Linked DNA regions of Homo sapiens: region 1 is linked to region 2. Evidence: promoter capture Hi-C in 16 types of primary human blood cells and fetal thymus (Javierre and others, 2016). All regions are on one chromosome and are shown on one strand. Each heading gives the region's core, a stretch centred on a gene start or on the middle of the fragment in contact. The rest is flanking DNA. Distances are from core to core; before and after follow the strand shown.

The links. Contacts are between HindIII fragments. The CHiCAGO score rates a contact against its expected background, and 5 or more counts as called.
Region 1: a fragment that was not itself captured here is called in contact with the fragment with the promoter of TLX3 in region 2 in 1 of 17 cell types (endothelial precursors); the score reaches 5.4 in endothelial precursors.

What each region holds. Positions count from the first base shown.
Region 1 is chr5:170,984,748-170,989,675 of GRCh38, forward strand. The region is part of intron 14 of RANBP17 (RAN binding protein 17); the gene reads left to right. Among named protein-coding and RNA genes, the nearest start is that of RANBP17, 130 kb to the left of the region's middle. The HindIII fragment of the contact is 541 bases long and covers 1,942-2,482 here.
Region 2 is chr5:171,306,272-171,310,920 of GRCh38, forward strand. TLX3 (T cell leukemia homeobox 3) reads left to right here and starts at 2,977. Exons shown (of 3, transcript NM_021025.4): 1 at 2,977-3,515; 2 at 3,879-4,122. The coding sequence starts at 3,095. RefSeq lists enhancers at 1,584-2,468, 2,469-3,354, 3,355-4,239, 4,240-4,649. The HindIII fragment of the contact is 15,951 bases long and covers 1-4,649 here.

The DNA.
Region 1 (4,928 bases), core at 962-3,461, 320 kb before region 2:
ATTTTACAGTATTTCCTGTTTATTTTTGTATCCATTAGTTGTTACCTGGTGTGTCACCATTTACTCTAATTATAAATTATCTTAGTTTATTGATAACAATTTTAAGTATTATTTTTTATATTAAATGTCTATTAGAAAAGGTCCATTTTAATTTTTAATCCAATTAAAATGTGATTTTTAAGTTTTAAAAATGGATAAGGAAGAGTCCTTTTAAAATACAGACACACACACAAAGACACACACATATACACAGACACACAGACACATACACATATACACACACAGACACACAGGCACACACAGACACACACAGACACATATACACACACAGGCACACACACACGCAGAACCACACATATACACACAAACACATACATACACAAACACAGACACACACAAATGCACACACAGACACACACACACACATCTTAGCTTCTGAATATCTACCAAAAGTTAGAAGTTTTGAACTTTGTTCTTAAATCCCTTTATTCAAGCTTACCCTACCATAAACATCAGTTTTGTCTTGGTTGGTTATGAAACCTTATCAGTGAGTGAAATTCCAAAAATTAATAAATACGTGTTGTTAAGGTCCTGGAATGTATTTTCCTTTAAAAATAGACCCATAAACAGTGATACTGATCAAGCATAGTATAATAGAATTTGCCTGAATTCTGTCCTCCCAAAACAGGATACCAGAAATTGAGCAAGAAGTAATTCCCTTTCTCTCTTCCATTTAAATTTTGAAATAGACAAGTTAATCTTCAAAATTTTTGCTCTCATTCTTCATTCCTTGTTTTGATATCCTATTCAATCTTTCACCACCAAAGGGTGAAATCCCTTGTATCTCTTTTGTTCATCACCATCTAGGTATACAGGAAAACACACACGTGTGTGCACTTGTGCAAATCTGCTTTCTTTCCAGTACCTTTCATCTGCCAGATGTCAACTGGAAAACATTCCAATTGAAGGATGTCATGCTATTGTATAAATGAATTCTCCTGGAAAGGATTGCCTTTCCTAAAGAAAATATTTATTAGTGCCAAATAATTCAAATGGTATAACAAAGTGAAGTGAAAAAATCAGTATGTGTTGTGGTAGCTGCTTGGATAGGGGTACCATCTTGTCTGGGAGTGTATACCTATGCTAGTTTCCTCCTTTTTATTTTTTGCCTTCATTCTTCTGAATTTACATATTTCCTAAAAATTTCCAAATTGCTTTTCAGGAAGATTTTCAAGGCATTGGGAAGGTTATGAAGCCAGAGGGAGTGAAAACAGAATAGTAATTTATAAATAAAGTTACCATACATCCAGATTTGCCTGAGATTTCCCCAGCTCACGCTTGTTGTCTTGGCAGATTGTTAGTTAATAGCTTCATCTTTCATTCTCAAAAATGTCTCTGTTTGGATGATAAATTATATGATCTCCTTGCATATAAACCACAAGTTTCTAAAGAGGATAATATAGTAATTCATAAATAAGTTTGTAAAGGCCAGGAAGTGAACCTTTCCTTTTGACTCTGTGGCTCTCAGTACCTGAGTAAAAGCCTTGTTTATAAGTGTCATGAACTAGTGATATATAAGCATGTTTAGATCTTTTTTGTGGAATAACTTGAAATTTGCATTAAGCCGATAAGTGCTCCAGTAGTGTAACTATAGTGAACAATAATTTATTGTATATTTTAAAATCACTAAACAAGTAGAATTGGAATGCTCCTAACACAAATGGCAAATGCTTGAGGTAATGGATACCCCAATTACCCTGATGTTTATTACACACTGTATGCCTTTATCAAAACATCAAATGAACCCCATAAACATATATATATATATACCTGTGATGTACCCATAATAATTGCAAATCTAGAAATTTTTTAAAAGATAAGTTCTCATTGATGTATTTTCAAATTGTCCAAAATAAAAACGGGGAATTATCTAAACTTTCAAGCTTTATCTGTGTATATGGATTTCTAAATTGTTTTGTGTAATTACTTATTATTCAACCTTTTTCCTACTGTTGAGTACACATATGAAGCAGCAGATGGCATTCTTTCCCTGCAATTGTTATGTCTTCCTGTATGGTATGTTACTGTAATAACAGTTACTGTTAAATTGAGTAGGAAAACACTTGAATAAGGAAATAGAAAAACATTTCATGATAGTATCTTCAATGGACTACTACAACTTTAAGTGCAATCCAATGTTAAAATAATGTACTAGCTGCTGTTTCATGGTACTTGGATATATTCTGATTACTGGCAACTTGTATGTTTGTATTTGATACACAATTTGGGGGAAAAGTGTTTAGAAAGTTCATCCTAAACAAATTGTTTCATACATAGAATTTTCACTTTGGTGAAAAATAGGTAGCAGCTTTAATACCTTTTAAACACTAAACATTGAAACATTTTAAATATTTCAGCATGCCAAATATATCATGTAGATTATAGGGGAAAGGCACCTGTGACCTTTAAGATTATATGTTGAAGCTTGATTGTTACAGAATAATGCTTAGTGACTTTAGGGATTTTTTTCTGTTAAGTGTTTTAAAGCTTTTCAGACTATTTCTGGGCTGCTTTTTGACTACCATATACTGAATAAATATATCATAATCAGTTTTTGTAATAGATAACAATTTGACCTAGTTAGGTTTTCCTTCTTGGTGAGTGGTTAGTGCTTATATTTCAAGTTAATGTACATACTGCTAGATAGTTTTATTGTTCAGGGATTTGTTATTTTAATAGTCATGTCATATGCTCAATACATATATAATACATTAGTATTCAGATAGGCCTTTTTAAAAAAAAAATAATTTCTCTATACCGCTTCCCACTTTTTTATCCTACATGGTAATATATATTAACTGTTTTTAAAAACACACATTTTATACCTGCTTAACAGAAAGTTGAGCAAATAATTAGACTAAAGGCCTAATTATTTTATTTAAAAACGTCTTTGCTGTATAAATAGATTTGCCAAATTCTACTTTTGAGAATGAATTCCATAAGTGCATTTAAGTGTTGGTGCAAGAGCATTAAGCACTAGACGAGGATGTTTGGGGCAGAAAAATCTAGTTAAAATCTTTGCAGCCACTGGTAATTAAAATTATGGTGTAAGTTAGAGAAATACAGGAAGTAAATTGGAAAAATATGGGCTTAGTTTTTTTTTAATAAGCTGACTTTTACTATTTATTTATCATACCAAATATACCATTATTTGACATCAAATCTTGTGAGAATTATATTTTGTTATGTAATTATATATACATTAAACACTTACTCTCTCCCTTGTGCTATGCTAGATCCTGGAAGAATTCAAAGATGATGATTTTTTGTGATTACTTAATAAAATATATGCTTACCCACAGAATATTTTTACTCTATTTTTTCCTCTCTTTTTTTCTACTTACTTTTAATGATTATAAATTCTCAATCATTATAAAATTCGGTATCTGTGGATAAATGCACAAAGTAAAACTCCACGTGCATTCTGATGTGAATGGCACTTTTTGGATTGTTCTCGAGTAATTATAGTTTGATGATTGATTTTTTTTTTTTAAGTAAGGGAGAGGGTGATAATTTCATCTGGTAGAGAAAAGTTTTCTGTATTCCACCTATCTTTTAGTGTTTGATTTTTTTTTTTGGTGATTCTAGGAATAAGAATAATAAATGAAATACCATGTAGTATGTGACTAAATACCCAAATACCAAGTAGATGTACTTTGAAGAGTTGTCAGCACTAAAGAAGACTTTCAATTTGAAAGAGGTTTTAGTTACTAAATTTTACGACTTGAAAACCCAGTCCCTCCATCAGTCTGTAATTTTTTTTAATAGTCATTGGATCTTGTGGAAATCATCAACAAGGCAATCTTCGTCCACAAATCAGAAGGCTAGGGCCACAAATATGCATATTTTCCCTGATAAAAGATTTTCATAATTAAAATTTTATGTCTACAGTTCATTATATATGTATTATACATACATGATCTTTGCACTTATGTGATAGTTCTTGCTTCTGGAATAAGGATGGATGTTGTTGAACATTCAGAGACTCTGCCAGATACCTCTTACTGTTTATTATTTTTGTACCAAATTAAATATGCCATTATTTGACTGGAAAAAAATTAGCCAGGCATGGTGGCAATGCACCTATAGTCCTAGCTACTGGCAACCAGTTTGTAAGATGAAGATGGGAAGCCTTCCTTACCGGAGTCTTGGGTAGAATTTGCTATCTTAAAAATATTCAAGTTGCTTAAAGTAAGATCATGTGTGAATACACGTCAGTAACTTTGGTATTTCAGTAATAAAGTCATAGGCAAACCCTCTACTAAGTTTTTACTAGAAATATGTTCACCTGTAATGGTGGTGCTAAAATTATTATTTGTCAAAAATAGTTGTCAGTGAGAATCTCATACTACATACTTGGAAGTATTTTCTAATGCTTATAATTGACTTAAGTATCTTGCTTGAAGGGAATCAGGATGAGATATAATCTATCCTACTTGTGCTGCAGAAACGCTGAAGCTATTCAGTCTGTGTAAATAATCCATCCCACATCTTTGCTTCCTCTTCAGTGAATGCTTAACATCCATATATTATGATGGCTTGAGTATCATTTGGAAACATAAGTCATAATAGCTACAAGTTTGTAATCGAAATATTGCGAAAAGAATTTTAGGTTTCAAGATAGTGATCCTTTAATGTCAAATGTTTCCTGCAAAACTGAATGAGGAATATTGTGGATTATTTAATTTTTAATCATTTATTTCATGATTATTTAAAAGTTCCCTATATTAATTAATCACTTCTATACTAATATGTTATACTGTTTTGGTAGGATAAGTGTAAGAAGATAATCATTGGATATTATTCCCAAGGCAAATTAGTATTTGGAGAATAGATACGTTTAGCCTGAGAGCTTGGTATTAAGTAGT
Region 2 (4,649 bases), core at 1,727-4,226:
ACAACACATTTGAAAACTCAGATGGAATGGACCATATTCTGGGCACTGGCTTCCAGAGTTGAGCAGGCATCAGAATCACCTGGAGGGCTTGTTAAGCACAGACTGCCGAGTCCTACCCCAGAGTGTCTGATGCCGTAGGTCTGGCGAGGGTCCAATAATTTGCATTTCTAACAAATTCTCCAGTGATGCTGATGCTGCTGCTCTGGAAACACACTCTGAGAACCACTGTCCTAGGGACTAACCAAGTTCCCCCCATTCCTGAGCTGCCTAAGAGCTATCTGGATAGGAAGTGAAAGGAGGCTTATAATTAGTGGCCCAAAGCTCCTTCATCTGTATGACAGGGCTGGACGATGAGGGACCGTGGATCTCAGGAAGCCGGAAGCCAAGCAGTGAAGCAGAGCCCTGACCCGTGCCAGGCTTTACCTGGGGCGCTTATTTAATCCCATGAGGTTTATTTACCAGATGAGAAAACTGAGGCATAAAGAGGATGAATAATTCCCTGAGTCCACAGCTGGTAAACTGAGGTGGGAATCCCATTCTTAAGCACACAAGCTGGGAGCAGCGCTGTGCCACCCACGCCTTAATTCTGTGCCACAAACCTCTGTGCGGTGGGCCTTGTTGTCCTGATTTAACAGTGTCTGAAGTGACAAGGGCAGCCCTGAGTCCCGGGCACTGGAAGCCAGAAGGGAAGTGGAGCTGGTGAGGTGCCAACTCCAGCCCCCAAGTGGGGAGCTGTGCTTCCCTTGAACTCTCAAAGCCTCAATTCCCTCATTAGTGAGAAATTGGGGCCACTAACAGCCCTTTCCTCACAGGGTCATTGTGAAGAATAAATAAGTGTCCACCTCCCTGCCTGGCACAGGCTAGGGTCTCAGCTACAGTAGCTTTATAGTTGTCATTAAAGTTATTATGATATAACCGCCAGAGTTTCACACAGGCACTGCCACAGATGTTATCTCATTTTGTTCTCACAGCCACCCTGGGGGTAGCTGGTGCCCTTTTTGTTTTACAAATAAGGAAAATGCGGTTCTGGGAGGGGCGGTTAGGGACCCACACTGCCAGTGGCAGAGCCTGAATTAGAAGCAGGAGGCCCCCTGGAGCCAGGGCAATGGCATCTACCCCATCTGAGGGTCGTTGTCGCTGGAAGGGAGTGAGGGAGCACTTGCCCAGACCCCAGACATCCTGCAGCTCTCACTCCTCACTGTTGGGCCTCCCTCTCCACACCCACCAGGAAGGCTTAGCAAGGGCCAGGAATTTGCCCAAGGTCACACAGCGGGCAAGTGACCTAACTCCAGACCCAGGCCTGGAGGCCCTGCAAATCCTGACGCCTTTGGATTGTTGGGAGAAGAGAGAAAGAATCCCCAACCTGCACCTCCTGTCTTTCCCCGTCCTCTGAAACTGACCCTACTGGTAGACAAATACACCTTTCTCTCCAACGTACTGAGCCCCTGCAAATAAAATTAAACTGCCAACAAAATAAACAAGAGTCACAACAATAATACATCAGCCATTACTCTGGGGGGATAGAGTGGGAGGTGAGCCACGCTGCCCAGTGCCTACTACGTGCCAGGCCCAGTGCTCTGCGCTCCCTCAATATCTCACTCGCGGCTCACGAACAACCCGCATGCATGCATTATTTTCCTTTTTTGCAAACGAGAAAACCGAAATCTAAATATATAGAGTCAATTTCTCAAGGTCACTCAGCGAGGAAATGGCCAGTCCAAATTTGAACACACTTCTGGCCAACAACAGCACATCCGAGCTCTCACCACTGTCCACACCACAAGGAGCGGGAGGAAGAACCCAGGCCAGGGGTGCGACACTCAAAGAGTTTGCACCTAACGATTTTAGAATTCGCTGGAAGAAAATGATTCCGCTTGTCTCCCCAAAGCTGCAGCGGAAGGTGACTACTTCGTGTGCGGTCCTGTCCACGGTGCCCTGGGCCGGGTAGACAGTCACTGAGGCGCGAGCAGAACGGGGAGTGGTTCCAGCGCCCAAAGTGGACTGGAGCCGGGAAGGGCTCACCAGTCGCGTTTCCCAAAGAAATCCCGCAATTTGCTCTAGGAGCTGCCCGCGCCTTTGACATTCAGGAACCCGAAGTCCCTAGACCCGCCGAGCCGCGAGCGGGTTCCCACGCGCGACCACAGCCCCCTTCCATCCTGCAACGAATTACGAGAGTCAGGTCCCCGCTCCCCACCGGGCGACCCCGCGTCCCTAGCCCAGCCGCAGCTGGCACGCGTGGGCACCTGCGAGTCACGCCTCGGTCCGCCTGGCCGGAGCCAGGGAGTGTCTCCAAAGTGGCCGCGAGGCCGCGGCCGAAACCCGGGCGGGGGCGAATTCTCCCCACGCGGGTCGGCGTCATCCGGGGCGCGGAGAACGCTACGGTGCTCCCCTCGCCCCGCGCGCAGGCAGCGCGAAGCCTGCCCCGGGTAGTGCGCCCCTTTCGTTCCTCCGGCGGCGGTAGCGTCCAAGGGGCTTCTGCGGATTCCGCCGGGTCGTCCCGGGGTTGCAACTCCATTGTACCTGAAAGGATGCATTTGGTTTGGCTTTTGCTCAGATGAAAAAAAAAAAAAATTGGAAGAAAACGAAAACCCACTCAGCAAAAGACAATTTCACAAGCGGAGCGCTCTACCCACCCAGCGCGGTGTCTGGGAAGCGGCCCGGCCCGGAGGAGCGGGGAGCGTCTGCTAATTGCAGCTTCGTTAGATTTCGGGTTTGGGAGGCTGTGGTTCGGGCTCTAATATCCGCCGCCCATTATCCCTGCTAATAAATTTGACCTATTGTTCGTTTGTTAAAATGATGTCACCTTGGAACAGTCCCTAAGCTCCTATTTCCATGAATTAGGCCTTTATTGAAAGCCGGGAGCCAATGAGAGGAGAGAGGCTTGTTGATCGCAGCCAATGGCTGCGGCAGGAGAGGAATTAGCAGCGGAAACTCCAGGTTCGGTTCAAGAAAGATGACACAGAGCCTGTCGGGCCCGCGCACTCTTGGCAAAGTTTCAGTGCGACGAGAGGCGCCGGGCGCTCCATGGCCGCGCCGTAACGGGGACCCAGCCGCCTCCCCGCCCAGCCCAGCCCAGCCCTTCCGCCCGCCCAGGATGGAGGCGCCCGCCAGCGCGCAGACCCCGCACCCGCACGAGCCCATCAGCTTCGGCATCGACCAGATCCTTAACAGCCCGGACCAGGACAGCGCACCCGCCCCGCGGGGCCCCGACGGCGCCAGCTACCTGGGAGGGCCCCCCGGGGGCCGTCCGGGCGCCACATACCCGTCTCTGCCCGCCTCCTTTGCGGGCCTCGGCGCGCCCTTCGAGGACGCGGGATCTTACAGTGTGAACCTGAGCCTAGCGCCCGCAGGCGTGATCCGGGTGCCGGCGCACAGGCCGCTGCCCGGGGCCGTGCCACCGCCTCTGCCAAGCGCGCTACCCGCCATGCCCTCCGTGCCCACGGTCTCCAGCCTTGGCGGTCTCAATTTCCCCTGGATGGAGAGCAGCCGCCGCTTCGTGAAAGACCGCTTCACAGGTGAGCAGAGCTGGCGACCAGGCTCCAGGCCTCCGCCCTCTCGGGGCCAGAGGCGCCGCGCCCTGTGCGCTCCACTCCCGGAAACCATTTCAGAGGCCCAAGCGCGGCGGAGGCCTCGGCCCCAGGGCCCCGGGCAGCCGTGGTGGGGAGGGTAATCGGAGAGTTGCAGGAAAATAAGCCCGTGCCCGGGGGAAGGGACAGGGGGCGAGGGGGTCTCCCGACCGGCTTGGTGTCTCTGGAAACGCGCGCGACCAGCGAAATAGCGGAGCTCTCCGTGTCCCACGGGGCGCCACGGGGTCCGCATGGGGCCTGAACGGTGGCGGAGCCGGGCTGGGCTTCAGGGGCCCTCCTGTGTCTCCGCAGCGGCGGCCGCACTCACGCCCTTCACCGTGACCCGGCGCATCGGCCACCCCTACCAGAACCGGACGCCGCCCAAGCGTAAGAAGCCGCGCACGTCCTTTTCCCGGGTGCAGATCTGCGAGCTGGAAAAGCGCTTCCATCGCCAGAAGTACCTGGCCTCTGCCGAGAGGGCGGCGCTCGCCAAGTCCCTCAAAATGACGGACGCGCAGGTCAAGACCTGGTTCCAAAACCGGAGGACCAAGTGGCGGTGAGAGAGGCCTGACCCGGCCCACCTTACACCTGCCCTTCACCTGTCCCGCCCCGAGCCGCAGCCTCGCACTAGCCCTATTTTAAGGCTATCCACTACCCCCGCCCCCCTCTGCCTCCCCCAAACACACCCCCACCCCGCCTTCGCAGATTGTACCTCTTCCTTTCACCCTTCTCGCTGGCCTGTGCTTCTCTCTCCATCGTGGTCTCCCACGCCTTGGTTTCTCCTCCATCCCCATCCCCATCTTTCGTGAGCCCCTCCAACTCTCTCCCCGTGTTTTGTACGGTCTCCTGCGTTCACTTGATTTCCTCTCACCCACCCCCGCCCCAAACACACAGGCACACACACACACACACACACGCGCACACACACGGGCCTCTCGCACTCTCCTTCTCCTCCTTCTTCCAGCCCGCCCTCTCGGATTTTCAACAATCCTCGTGGACGCCGGTTTCCTCTCCCCCCATCTCCGCGTCTCCATTCCAGCCGCGTTTTTATCCGATCTCTGTTTTGATTCAACCCGTAAACGG